Regions from separate parts of the Homo sapiens genome. Here all the other regions are linked to region 2. The links are contacts of gene promoters, found by promoter capture Hi-C in blood cells and fetal thymus (Javierre and others, 2016). All regions are on one chromosome and are shown on one strand. The core of a region is centred on a gene start or on the middle of the fragment in contact, and the rest is flanking DNA. Distances in the headings are between cores, read along the strand shown. Region 1 has its middle 250 kb from the start of LINC02438. Region 2 holds the start of SLIT2 (slit guidance ligand 2). Region 3 overlaps LOC105374510 (a long non-coding RNA gene). Region 4 overlaps LINC02438 (long intergenic non-protein coding RNA 2438). Region 5 overlaps LOC105374510 (a long non-coding RNA gene).

The links. Contacts are between HindIII fragments. The CHiCAGO score rates a contact against its expected background, and 5 or more counts as called.
Region 1: a contact is called between a fragment that was not itself captured here and the fragment with the promoter of SLIT2 in region 2, in 2 of 17 cell types (M2 macrophages and M1 macrophages). The highest score is 7.5, in M2 macrophages.
Region 3: a fragment that was not itself captured here is called in contact with the fragment with the promoter of SLIT2 in region 2 in 5 of 17 cell types (endothelial precursors, total B cells, M2 macrophages and 2 more); the score reaches 12.2 in endothelial precursors.
Region 4: a fragment that was not itself captured here is called in contact with the fragment with the promoter of SLIT2 in region 2 in 1 of 17 cell types (M1 macrophages); the score reaches 5.3 in M1 macrophages.
Region 5: a contact is called between a fragment that was not itself captured here and the fragment with the promoter of SLIT2 in region 2, in 1 of 17 cell types (total B cells). The highest score is 5.1, in total B cells.

What each region holds. Positions count from the first base shown.
Region 1 is chr4:19,202,631-19,205,344 of GRCh38, forward strand. No RefSeq gene overlaps it. Among named protein-coding and RNA genes, the nearest start is that of LINC02438, 250 kb to the right of the region's middle. The HindIII fragment of the contact is 6,133 bases long and covers 1-2,714 here.
Region 2 is chr4:20,250,649-20,253,348 of GRCh38, forward strand. SLIT2 (slit guidance ligand 2) reads left to right here and starts at 1,257. Exons shown (of 37, transcript NM_004787.4): 1 at 1,257-2,700. RefSeq lists an enhancer at 2,373-2,700. The HindIII fragment of the contact is 6,723 bases long and covers 202-2,700 here.
Region 3 is chr4:18,690,704-18,693,403 of GRCh38, forward strand. All of the region lies in intron 2 of LOC105374510 (a long non-coding RNA gene), which reads left to right. Among named protein-coding and RNA genes, the nearest start is that of LCORL, 670 kb to the left of the region's middle. RefSeq lists an enhancer at 965-1,898. The HindIII fragment of the contact is 6,213 bases long and covers 1-2,700 here.
Region 4 is chr4:19,247,365-19,250,064 of GRCh38, forward strand. All of the region lies in intron 2 of LINC02438 (long intergenic non-protein coding RNA 2438), which reads right to left. Among named protein-coding and RNA genes, the nearest start is that of LINC02438, 210 kb to the right of the region's middle. The HindIII fragment of the contact is 2,936 bases long and covers 1-2,700 here.
Region 5 is chr4:18,673,991-18,676,690 of GRCh38, forward strand. All of the region lies in intron 2 of LOC105374510 (a long non-coding RNA gene), which reads left to right. Among named protein-coding and RNA genes, the nearest start is that of LCORL, 650 kb to the left of the region's middle. The HindIII fragment of the contact is 1,498 bases long and covers 604-2,101 here.

The DNA.
Region 1 (2,714 bases), core at 144-2,643, 1.0 Mb before region 2:
AATCTACATAACAAACCTAAGAAGTAGATATTATTATTCCCATTTTATAGAAAAAAATGAAACTCAAACTTATTAAACAACTCTCATTCAAAATTGCTACAAAGAGAATAAAACATATAAGAATACAGATAACAAGGGAAGTAAAGGACCTCTTCAAGGAGAACTACAAACCACTGCTCATGGCAATCAGAGAGGACACAAACTAATGGAAAAACATTCCATGCTCATGGATAGGAAGAATCATTATGAAAATGGCCATACTGCCCAAAGTGATGTAGAGATTCAATGCTATTCCCATTAAACTACCATTGACATTCTCCACAGAATTAGAAAAAAACTACTTTAAAATTCATATGGAACAAAAAAAGAGCCCAGATAGCCAAGACAATCCTAAGCAAAGGAACAAAGCTGGAGGCATCACATTCCCTGACTTCAAGCTACACTACAAGGCTACAGTAACCAAAACAGCATGGCACTGGTAGAAGAACAGACACATAGGCCAATGCAACAGAATAGAGAACTCAAAAATAAGACCCCACATCTACAACCATCTGATATTTGACCAACCTGACAAAAAAGTGTTGGAGAAACTGTTTCCTATTTAATAAATGGTGCTGGGAGAACTGGCTAGTCATATGCAAAAAATTGAAACTGGACCCTTCCTTACACCTTATGCAAAAATTAAGTCAGTGTGGATTATAGACTTAAATTTATAACCCCAAACTATAAAAACCCTAGAAGAAAATCTAAGCAATACCATTCAGGACATGGGCAAGAGCAAAGATTTCATAACTAAAACATAAAAAGTAATTGCAATAAAAGCCAAAATTGACAAATGGGATCTAATTAAACTAAAGCGCTTCTGCACAGCAAAAGATACTATCATCAGAGTGAACAGGCAAGCTACAGATTGGGAGAAAATTTTTGCAATCTACCTGTGTGACAAAAGTCTAATATCAAGAATCTACAAGGAACTTAAACAAATTTACAAGAAAAATACAAACAACCCCATTAAAAAGTGGGCAAAGGACATGAACAGATGCTTCTCAAAAGAAGAGATTTTGCACCTAACAAACATGGAAAAAAGCTCAGCATCGCGGATCATTAGAGAAATGCAAGTCAAAACCACAGTGAGATACCATCTCACACTGTCAGAGTGGCAATTATTAAAAAGTCAAGAAACAACAGATGCTGGCAAGGCTGTAGAGAAATAGGAACACTTTACACTGTTGGTGGGAATTTAAATTAGTTCAACCATTGTGGAAGACAGTGTGGTGATTCCTCAAAGATATAGAAACAGAAATACCATTTGAACCAGCAATCCCATTACTGGGTATATACCCAAAGGAATATAAATCATTCTATTTTAAAAATACATGTGTCCATACGTTCACTGCAGCACTATTCATAATAGCAAAGACATGGAATCAACTCAAATGCCCATCAATGATAGACTGGATAAAGAAAATGTAGTACATATGCACCACGAAATACTATGCAGACATAAGAAAGAATGAGATCATCTTCTTTGCAGGGATATGGATGGAGCTGGAAGCCATTATCCTCAGCAAACTAACACAGGAACAGAAAACCCAAACACCACCTGCTCTCACTTGAAAGTGGGAGCTGAACAGTGAGAACACATGGACACCTTGAGGGAAACAACACATACTGGGGCCTTCAGTCAGGCAGGGAGGGGTGGTAGAGGGAGGGAAAGCATGAGGAAAAATAGCTGATGCATGCTGGGCTGAATATCTAGGTGATTGGTTGATATGTGAAGCAAACCACCATGGCACATGCTTACCTATGTAACAAACCTGCACATCCTGCACATGTATCCCGGAACTTAAAATAAATAATAATAATAGTAATAACTGGTTTACAGAGTCTAGGCTTTTAATTATTACTCTATGAAGTAGTCTCCCAAATGGTATTCACAAAATGATTCATAGAAAATTTATTGTGATCTTTATGATTTTTATGAATATTTATGTTTTCACCCTAGTTTTCATATCAGGTTCATATGTCTAAAAGGAAAATATTACTTGTGGTATGTTGATGATGCCCAAGGTAAAGATGGGGTATTCACCACAAATCTAACAATTAAGACCATCACAATTTTTCATTTGCTTTCAGCACACTGAGGTGTGTCATAGTAAAATTACCCTTAGTTCAATAAATTTACAGGATATTTTATTTTTCATATTATTATATTTTAATCTACTTTGCCATATAGAAAATGACTATAAAATGATATTTAGAAATGGAAAAACATTGCTTATCATCTCATGGTCAAAAATTAGGATTATCATTGTCAATCTTCGAAATATAATATGCATTTTTTCACTTATAAAGCATACATGCTTTAATTTGCTGAATTTGTTATGGCATTGTGGTAAACTGATTATATCCACTTACTTTGCTATGAACCTTTGCGTGTCTTTCACTATGGGTGGAGTACATTTGTCCAGTGCCATGATTTCTGTCTTGGTTTTGTGACCTTTTTTGCTTAATAAAATATTAATAAATATGATGTGGACTTAAACATGTGGGCATGGCTTGCCTTGCTTTCTTAAGTTCCTGTGATCATCTATAAAATGAACATGACATGAATAACTACTGACTAAAGATAAATAAATTGGAAAACACATGCAACAGAGTTAAGCCCAACCCACAATTCAAAGCCAAGTCTAGATAATTCTAAATTGGTCACT
Region 2 (2,700 bases), core at 7-2,506:
TGCAGAGATTTTAGGTTGAGCATACTCTTGAGTTAAAGAAATCGGTTACTTATGAGGAAACCTATTATGTGGCAGGCATAGATGCTGGAAATACAAAGAGTTGGACAGGTCTTGCTTTCAAGGAAGCTTCTAATAATTATACAAATAACTACTACAATATGAGGCTGGTATTAGGCGGGGGCTTGCACAAATTCCAGGGAAAGCTTCTTAACGTGGAAATGGGAGGAAGAACAACAATATGATGCATATTAAATCCAAGAGAAGGAGCAGAGTCATTTAGATGTCATTTCAAACTTACAGTGACATTGGCTCTTGCTGGGGGGGAAAGGGGGGCGAGAGAGGCAGCCGTTGCCAGACATACGTCACACTAAAGAGACAAGATGAAACAAGGAAATTCTCTTTCAAAACATAGCGGGGAAAAAAATATCCAGAACTGCCCTGAAATAAAGAAAACCTTCTGGTATAATGTGCGTTGCTAGGGATTTATTTTTTCCCCTCCTTTCTCTCATAAGAGAGTAAAAAATCACACAGATACGTTCAAGCCCTTAAGAGTTTTGTGAGCCTATTGAATATCCAAGACATCAACTGACCACGGTGTGGTTCAGTGTGTGTCTACAAAGGAAGGGTTAAACGGAAGGGGGTGGCTTGGAGATAGAAAGGCAAGCAAGAAGGTTGGAAAATGCTGTTTTCCAACTTGCAAAAACTGAACTTTTCAGCTCCCCAAAATACACGTGTGTGTCTGTAAGCGCAGGCAGATCTATTTCGGTAGGATTTTTCTTAAATTTAAATCATAATTTCTCTGTTTCTGTCTCTCTGTCTCTTGCTGCGCTGCAAAGAGTGAGCAGCCCCCTTAAGGATCGCGTGGCAAAAGCTGCAGGAGAGGCACTGGCAGGGCTGTTTATTTATGAGCCGCGTTCAAAGCCGACCTCTTCCCATTCTCCCACTGCAAACGACTATCTCCGAGCCCAGGTCACCTCTGGGGCCAAGGAGTTGGGGGCTGGGGCTCGGGTGGCTCCTTCTTCGGGCCAAGTTTGCCCGCGCGTGGGAGCGAGGGGGCGAGCCAGGGCGCACGGGAACGCGCGCCGCCAGCCGCCGCCTCCGCCCAGCGCTGGCAGCCCCGGCCTCACCTCTCCCCTCTCCCCAGCGAGGTGCGGGCTCCCAGAGCGGAGCCAGGGGGCGGGCCTGGGCCTCGAGGGGCGGGGTCAGGGGGCGGAGGCTCGGGCGGCTATATAAGGCCCGCGCCGGCTCAACTTCGGACTTGGTGTTATTTATTTGGGAAGCGCCCGGACGGCGGAGCTTGGCGGCGGCGGTGGTGGTGGCTGCCGCAGACTGTGGTTAAAAAAAAGAAGGCGGCGGCGGCGGCGGCGGCGGAGGCGGAGGCAGCTGCGAGGCATGGGAGCGCCGAAGCGCCCAGGCGCAGGCCGAAGCTGCCGCGCTTTCTGGGCACGGCGGGAGTGCTGAGCAGAAAGGGGAGCGCCGGGGGCCCGCAGCCGGCTCCGGAGGCGCGGGCCGGGTTTTTGTTTGGCTACGCTGAGCGCCAGTCAGCCCCAGCGAACAACTCCAGTTACGACAACAACCCACCTTCCTTCCAGACAAGCGAGACTTGGGCTGCTGCGTCCGTCCTATTGTTTAGACACTTGCCAGGGGCTCCGGAGTCGGCAGAGCCACCGAGTCCCCGCTCTGAGTCGTCGCCCTCCCTCTCCCCGACCTCGCTCCCTGGAGCGGGAGGCCAGGAAAGCAGCGGGAGAGGGGAAGGGGCTAGAAGGAGAAGGACTACCCGGGACTGCGGCCGCCGCGTCAGGTGCAGCGCCAGGAGCCGGGCGGCGTCGCCACGCCGGCAGGGGTACCGCCACTGTGGCCTTGGGGGACGGAATTCAAAGCCTGGGAAAAGTTGCTGCACTTTGAGAAGGACGAACCACTAGTGGGAGACCGCCGGGGGCCGGCCGTGGCTCTGCGCCCTCCGGAACCCGGCTCTTGTTTCTTCTACCTTTGCCATCAGGTGTCTGCCGCGGAGCTGCGGCTTATCTGGGAGACGAGCGGGGTTGACACGCGCGCACACACTACTGCCATTCAGCTGCCGCCTGGCTCTGCCTGGAGTAGTGGATCCCACCCGCCCACCTGCCACCGAGCCATTCTCCAGTACGCCCCAGCAGGACGCTGACACCTCCAACCTTGGCCTTTGCCTTTCCACTCCTTCCGGTCTGCCTGGTTTTTAAGTCCGCCCCCAGTCAGTCCCCACTCAGTCTTCGCAGCAGCTCTCATCCTCCACTTGGCCTCTTGGAGTTCCTCGCCGGAGTGCTGACTAGTGGATATTTCTGCCCGGCTGCGGCGGCCCGACTGCCCTTTTGTCTTTTCTGCGTGACCTCGGGGCAGGTCCTGGTGCAGAGCGTCGCCAAGGACGCCGAGCGGGAGGCGGGATTGCCCAGACATCCTTCAGCGAAGTGCATGTGTGTTTGTAAACCATCGTTGGCTGTCGGGAGACCGCGAGGACCGGTCCAGGCTGCGGCGGAGTCGAGGGCGAGGGAGAGGCCGCGTGAGTGAGCAGAGTCCAGAGCCGTGCGCCCCCAGAACTGCGCGTCCGCCCCGTGCACCCCCGCGCGCCATGCCCAGTTGCCCCGCGCGCTCTGCTACGGGCCCGCTGGGCTTCCGCGCCTTCTAGCTTCCGGAGCCCACTTTGATCGGGGCCATAATACCTATTGA
Region 3 (2,700 bases), core at 58-2,557, 1.6 Mb before region 2:
AGTATTTTAATATGTCATGAAGTCCCTGTCTTTCTGCCTAATCCTACTCTATCATAATGCATCTAGCACAATGGAGATGCATGCATGCTTAATTTCCATAAATTACACAGCCCTGCATTTTCATAAAGACAAATTCCAATTGTAAACTATTAAACCTAAGTCAACATCCTTTGATGTCTCTGAGAAAGATTGTGGGGGAAGTTTAAGCATTCCCACATGGGGATGTGTTCCCTAGAGTAGGTGAGGAGGGAGGTAATATTTTTTTTGCCCCTCATATCTCTTTATTAACTTGGATGTGTTCTTCTGAGGCTGAAGTGAGTTCCTTTACAGAAACTTAAAAAAAAAAACAAAAACACAACAAAACAAAACAAAAACACTGTGGGAAAACCAGCACCACACATCACTTCTCCCAAAAGCTAAACTCTTAATCAGAATCAAAAGAAACTCTGTTTCTCTGAAGCCATGGCTTGGTTTCAGCCTCTAAAGTGGGAACCAAGTCTAGCCGTCCCTAACCAATAGCCTTACTCTTTGGATTATCGAATGTTACTTTTTTTCTTTGTTTCGAAACTCTCTCCTTCAAGCTCTCTTATAACTATGTAGTTAGATCAAAGGGAATACCATCCAGACCTCTCCATTCAGGTACCATGGAGCTTTCATTATTTAGTTGTGGAATTTCCTCAACAGATCCTGTTCTCAGCATCCTGTTGACATAATTTAACATACAGGTTATAAAGACTTCTGTGAGCCTTCTCCCTTCCTGTTTACTTTCACTCCTCGGTGGAACCCAGGGCTCAGAAGCCGGCTCTTTTACATCTGAAAGCCGGATCACCTCCCCCCAAAGCAGGAAAGGTGTGAAAAGTAAGCAAGGGAAAGCAAGAAAGCAAATACAGTGGCTTTTTAACAGCGCTGCAGACCTGGCTCGGTCTGAGAGGTGATTCAGGGAGTGAGAATTCTGAGCAGGGGGCAGGATGGGGACCATGGATACATTTCTAGGTCCTGCTGGGTTGGTCCTTCACAGGGTGGCTTTGTTGTGAGATGTGACATGTTATGAATTCCTGGAACCCCACACACACTTGCATGCAAATGTAAGTTGATTTAAACACAAGAGGGGGCTCTCAGATTCAAGGCCACTAACCAGAACTAGTGAGATGGAAGATTTCTTAGTTCTGTAATTATTCCTGATGCACACCTCTGGGAAGAGGATGTCTTCCTAACTATATTTGCAAATGTTGGCTGGAAACCATGGGGGCCTGGCCAGAAATCGCCACGTGAGCCATCTCAGGTCCAGATAAGTCAAAATGTTGTAACAGAGGAATAGCGCCAAAGGGTATTTTAGCAGCAATTTGAACTTTGTAAGCACAATACAATGCAGCTGTTGAAGGTTCAGGGCTTGTGGCATGCAGTGGGGGTGAGCGCAAGGTGTTGGTGCAGGGGCAGTGTCAATGTGTCCACTGCCAAGTGATTTTGAAGCAGACATAGAGAGACCACAGATGATGGACAGAGCAGATGAGGAAATCCTTTATTTGCACGAAACTGCTGAAGGATGCAAATTTCAGAGCAGGTAGCACAACCTTTTCAGTTCCAGATGCCCCAGGAAAAAGATTTTCTTAAATCCATTTTGGCAAGCCAGCCACAAAAGGCCAGGCATGTGGACCCAGAAAGTATAGGGGTGAATAAGTGGTCAGTGTGTATTCCGGGTATCTGAATACCAGCTTAGGCAAACTACAGCCCCATCAATTCAATGCACACCTCTCTTTGTGAATTTACCTTGGGTATTTAGGTATAGTTTATGTGACATTTTTTGAAATTATCATCAAGAAAAAAACATATGTATATGTTTCTATACCTATACTCTTCCCGAATACAATGGAAACTAACATGGTTTTATTTTGCTACTTTCAAACCAAATCCCAATTTTTGTTGATAAAATCTGAAATTTAAAACCCATATTAATAGTAAATGTGTACTTTATATTGTGATTATAATGTTACCATTATAAATATATGAATATTTATATATTATGTTTTAGTTATAATTCTTTGCAAAAAGTATTGTCTCATGTGCTTTAAAGTGTATAAACTTTAATAATTCTTCAAACTTATAGTATATTTAGTTTTATTTCTCATTACTATATGTTTTTAATACCATAATGTCTCCATAGTTGATGTCTATATTTTGGTACCAATTAGAAGTGGGCTCTTTGAAAAATTTATTTTATTTTCTAAAAAATTTCACTTAAGGACATGATTTTGGCTGGAGTGATCCCAATTTCCATTTCATCAATTATATAAGGAGTTATATGTAGAAACTTGAGGTAATTAGTATAGTATTTTCAATTTATTCCAGTGATATTTTAGTACCCTTAAAAGATTGATGCTTACAAAATTATCTTTTAAATTTCCTGTGTGTGTGTGTGTGTGTGTGTGTGTGTGTTCATGTACGTGGTTAGGTACCATTGTAAAAGTACTTGAAGGCTATACTTTTATTCATTTCTCAGCTGACTGTGATGCAAATTGACTATTCTTTTTTTTTTTTTTTTTTACAAAGGGTATGGAAGGAAAGTGTACTTTGTAAATCTCCTATAAAGTTATGTTTCCTTTGTCCTGATACCAGGCAGCAACATAGCTTGTTGTAGAAATTTTGGGTCAAATGTTTGTTTACGCACAACACTAAAATCTCATTTATTTGACATATTTGCTG
Region 4 (2,700 bases), core at 134-2,633, 1.0 Mb before region 2:
AAAGTTATAACAGATTAATTTAAGCTGATAGCAACTTAAATTTGGTCATATAAAAAGACTCTATATTATTTCCCTTTCCCCACAATTTATATTTGTGTTGCCATAATTTGCTTATCTATTATTGTTTCTTAGCCACCAATTGAATCTGTTGATTTTTACTTTTATTTATTTATTTATTTTTAGATGGGGTTTTGCTCTTGCTGCCTAGGCTGGAGTGCAATGGTGTGCTCTTGGCTCACTGCCACCTCCACCTCCCGGGTTCAAACAATTCTCCGATCTCAGCTTCCCAAGTAGCTGGGATTACAGGCACCCGTCACCACACCTGGCTAATTTTTGTATTTTTTAGTAGAGACAGGGTTTCACCATGTTGGCCTGACCTCAGGTAATCCACCTACCATGGCCTCCCAAAGTGTTTTTTTTACTATTTTTACTTCAAAACTTCATACTAGACAATTGAAAGATGTACATAGCACCATTACATCACTGGGGTATTCTGGGTATAAGTTATAACTTTATGTCTACTGGTGAGTTTTATACATTCATGTGTTTTCATGATAGTGATCATTATCCTTTGTTTCCAGTTGCAGCACTCTTTAAGCAATTCTTATCAGGCCAGTCTAATGGTGAATTCTCTTTGCTTTTTTTTTTTTTTTTTTTTTTTGTCAGGAAAGGCCTTTATTTCTCCTTTATTTCCGAAGAATAGCTTTGCTGGAATAGTTTTATTGGCTGACAGTTATTTGCTTTATTTGAGCACTTTGAATATATGATTCCATTCTCTCCTCGTCTGCAAGGTTTCTGCTAAGAAATGTGATGATACTGTAAAGGTGACTGTTTTATACGTGAGTTGACACTTTCTCTTGCTGCTTTTAGAAATCTCTCTTTATCTTTGGCTTTTGACAGTTTGATTATAATGTTCTTCAGAGAGTTTGTATTGAATATAATTAGGGCTTTTGAGCTTCCTGAATCTGTATGTTCATATCCATCTCACCACTTAGAAAGTTTTCAGTTATTATTTTGCAGAATAGGGTTTCTGCACGTTTTTCCACCTATTCTCTCTCTAGTACTCATATAATAGTAATAAAAAAAATTGTCAGCTTAATGATCCCACAAGCCTTTTAGGATTTCTTCTTTCCTTGTTTTTAATTCTTATTTCTTTATTTTTCCTCTGATTGCATTATTTCTTTTGGTTGATATAATGTGTTGTTGAAGCTCTTAATTTTATTTATCTATTTATTTATTTTGAAGCCAACTGAATGGCATGATGTTCTTGGCTTTTGCCTTCCAGTGTACTGTCAGACACACTGTGGAAAGGCCCTCAGGTTTCTGTCACCTCCATATCATTCTCACTATCCTCCCCTTCTTTCCAAGGATCCCATGTCCTGGGATTCCACACTGTCTTGCTCAGAATCATCCAGATTTTAGGCCATAACTCTTTTGCCACCCCCCACGTGGAGGGATTGTCTGGTTAGAGTCTCTGTATTCTCCTTGCTTTTATCCCCCTCCCTTTTATCTAGCTTCTTCACAAAATTCCCATGCAGGGCAACATGAACGCTCACATATCAGTCTCTCTATCAATTGTATTTTAAAACTTAATTCATTGACTTATTCAGCTCCATCATTTAGTTTGTTCTTTTTTATGATATCTATCAAAATTCCTTATTTAGATCATGAACTGTTTCCTGATTTTATTAAATTGACTGTGTTCTTTTGTAACTTCCCGACTTTCCTTATGATTATCAATTTGAATTCCTTTTCAGGCATTTAATAAATGGCGAGTTATTTTACTTAAGAGGTATTGTTTTTTTGGAGGGTGACAATGTTTTCCTGCCTTTTTTTTGTTTTTGTTTCTTATGTCCCCAAATTGATATCTGTGCATCTGGTTGTTGAGCTAGGCATGTGCAGATACAGAAAGCCAACAGGCTGTCTGTAGGGCTTTTGGGGGAGGTGGTAGGAACTTCCAGGCTGGTTGTTGGGCAAGGCTTGGGCATATGTTGGTGCAACCGCCCAGTGGCTGTCAGGCTATCTCTTCAGAGTGAGGGGGGCACCACCAGACCAGCCATCAGGCCAGTCACAGGTACAGGCAGATGCTGCAGGGCCACATGCCTCTGTGGCAGTCTGTTTGTGTCTTGGGATTTGATATGGTTTTGCTGTGTCGCCACCCAAATCTCAACTTGAATTGTGTCTCCCAGAATTCCCACGTATTGTGGGAGGGACCCAGGGGGAGGTAATTGAATCATGGGGGCCAATCTTTCCCATGCTATTCTCGTGATAGTAAATAAGTCTCACAAAATCTGATGGGTTTATTAGGGGATTCTGCTTTTGCTTCTTCCTCATTTGCTCTTGCTGCCACCATGTAAGAAGTGCCTTTCACCTCCTACCGTAATTCTGAGGCCACCCCAGCCAAGTGGAACTGTAAGTCCACTTAAACCTCTTTTTCTTCCCAGTCTTGGGGATGTCTTTATCAGCAGCATGAAAACAGACTAATACAGTAAATTAGGACCAGTAGAATGGGGCATTGCTGAAGATACCCAAAAAATGTGGAAGCAACTTTGGAACTGGGTAACAGGCAGAGGCTGGAACAGTTTGGAGGGCTCAGAACAAGACAGGAAAATGTAGGAAAGTTTGGAACCTCCTAGAGACTTGTTGATGGTGGAGCAAAGGTAACTCTTGTTATGTTTTAGCAAAGAGATTAGCGGCTTT
Region 5 (2,700 bases), core at 103-2,602, 1.6 Mb before region 2:
GTCAATTAAGCTTCATTTAAGAAAGATCAACTTGGTTGCAGTGTGGAGAATGGATTAGAGAGGTGGAGGTATTTGAGAGTTGACATAAAAAGACTACTTAGGAGGCTATTCTGGGAATTAAGGCAAGATGGAATTCTGAACCAAGGCAGGAGGATGTTGTAGATGAAATTTATTTAGAGCTATTAAGGAGGTAGAATCTATAGATCTTTGGGACTAGCAGCTAGCCAGGGGAATGAGAGACAAAGGAGTCAATGGTGACTCCTGGTATTCTAACATGGGTTGCTATGTGAATGTGTTGCAACTTCTTAGGACTGGGAATGCCAGATGCACAGGTGTTTGAATAAATCCATAAGCTTATACATTTATGTATTCTGTTCTCATGAAATTATGAACTCCCTGCAAACAGGAAGCACTTTTTAAACCTTCCTTATAACTTTACACTTCTCTAAGCAGTCATCCCCATCTATATTAGAAACTCAATAAGTAACCATTGAATCATTTGAGGATTAGATTTGTCTTCTCCTATAGAGATTACTGAAGAGGAATTTCAGCATTTCCTTATACATTATGTGTGAAACGGGGTGACAATTTTTCCCAATTGGAAGCTTTCCCATTGTTACTGAGAAAAGACAATCTAGCATATTAGCTAGAAGCAGATAAAGTTCTCTATCTCTGAATTACATATCATAGAAAAATCTAAAAAATCTTTGATATCTCTAAAGAAATACTGATTTATTCTTTTCTGAAATACAAGTCTCAAATACAAAAGGTTCCTGATAACTTAAATAAAAATGTAACACTATTCTAAATCACAAAGCATAATCTATCCCTATATTTTGGAGATCTGTGGACTAAAGAGATAATTTCTTACAGCCTCACAGCCTTCCCTCTCAGAAAACTAAGTCTTAATGGAAGAAGCAAAGGTGTTCTAGTGTCAGGGCCATGCAATATCCACATAATTCACAGGGGATGCTACTGGAAGGGTTGCACAGGGAAGGGGCAAGAGAATATTGCAGCAGCTTCCCAGTGGAAAGTCAATGTGAGCGATGAATGTTTCACTGATTCCCAGTGTCCTTAATGGATTGCTTATGCTGATTCTCCCCACCTCCTCAACACACACCTCCACTTTAGTTGAATCTCTTCATATCTGTCCTGTCTCTTTTCTCTGTTTAGGCCAGTGGAGGAGGTTCACACTCACATCAGGAAGAGCCTGAGGATAAAGGGGAGCACAACATGTGTTTTGCAAATCAGTAAATCAATCAACTAATATTTATGGACTATTAAATTTGAGTGGAGCTATACATTTGCAAAGACAAAGGAAACAGGTATGATATAGAGGGGTTACCTTCAAGTCACTTACATTTTACATGCTGAGCCCTAACCAATGAAAAGATAGCTAGTAAACATATCTTTGGAATGGTTCTTACAAAACTATGGTGTGGTAATCTTCTCTTCCATAGAGCTTAGTTGCCTATCCCAATGAAGATGATTATTTTTATTTCTTTTTTTTATTTTTGTAAGTGCTGGGGATGGACTAGTCTAAACATAATATCATCTCTAAATTATACTGAAGACACTGAATATTGAAATAGAGTTTCTTGTGGCCTTCATGTAACATGACATGATAATGGTATAGCCTATTTGATATCACAGGGGAATTAAATTTGCTCTTTTTAATCATCTGGAAGAGAGCAATTTGGCATATGTTGCAATTACAAGGATGCCTTTCTCTGAGACTATTTACAGAGATAGCCACAGCTTAAGACAGAAGAGCATTGTTTGATTTGAGAGCTGTAAGGAAGGGGACGACATCAAAGGCTCCCAAATGTAGCCGGACACTTCGACTTCTCTGTACAGAAAGTTGATTATGGTCTGCAAAAGTGCACCAAGGGCATTGCTACACACAAGTTCAGTCTTTCCTCATTGAAGGTTTATGGGGCTTGTAATGTCAAGATCCATGAATTTCAGGGACTGTTCTTGTCCTTGGATCAGATTTGGAAGCAGCTTTTGATCAGTGAAGTGAAACAATTAATTATAATAAATAATGCTACTAGAAATCCTCACACAGTCAGTTAAAGGAGGAGGGGAGCCAAAGAAATAAAGCTTGTCTCTGGCAGAATCTCATCATCTGGTCTGCCTGGACCCTATCCTGTTTGGCTACAGCAACCACAGCTCACTAAGCCTCTGGTGAAAGACACAGTTGCGCCATATTCTCAGCCAGTGGTGGTATTGGGTTTTGGAAGGGTGGAGGGGGTGATAAAAGAAGCTCAAAAGGATCAGAGAGGAATGCAAAATTGTTTTCCATTCATCTGTATTTGATTGCTTTGTGCCCTGAAGCACATGATTTAATTATTTTCATCATTGCCTCAGCTTCCTCAGCTACCAATCTCATTGATGGCAATAAAATTATTCAGCCTTTACAAAAAATGCAGCCATAATAATTCTTGACTCAATGAATACTTAAGGCTATAAAATCAGCTCCTTGAATGACTGCATCCAATTGAAAACACCAACCCAGGGCTTTCTCAACAATTAAAGTGAAATATAAACTTATGTGAGATAGAAGCGTCCTGCTTCTATATTCAAAATAGCTACCTGTTATTCGTTGCCTACAACTTATATTCGCTATCTCTAGTCCACACAAGAGCCCTCTGTGAAGACAATTTTTTTTCCCCTAAGGGAGCTCAAAAAAGCCCTGAG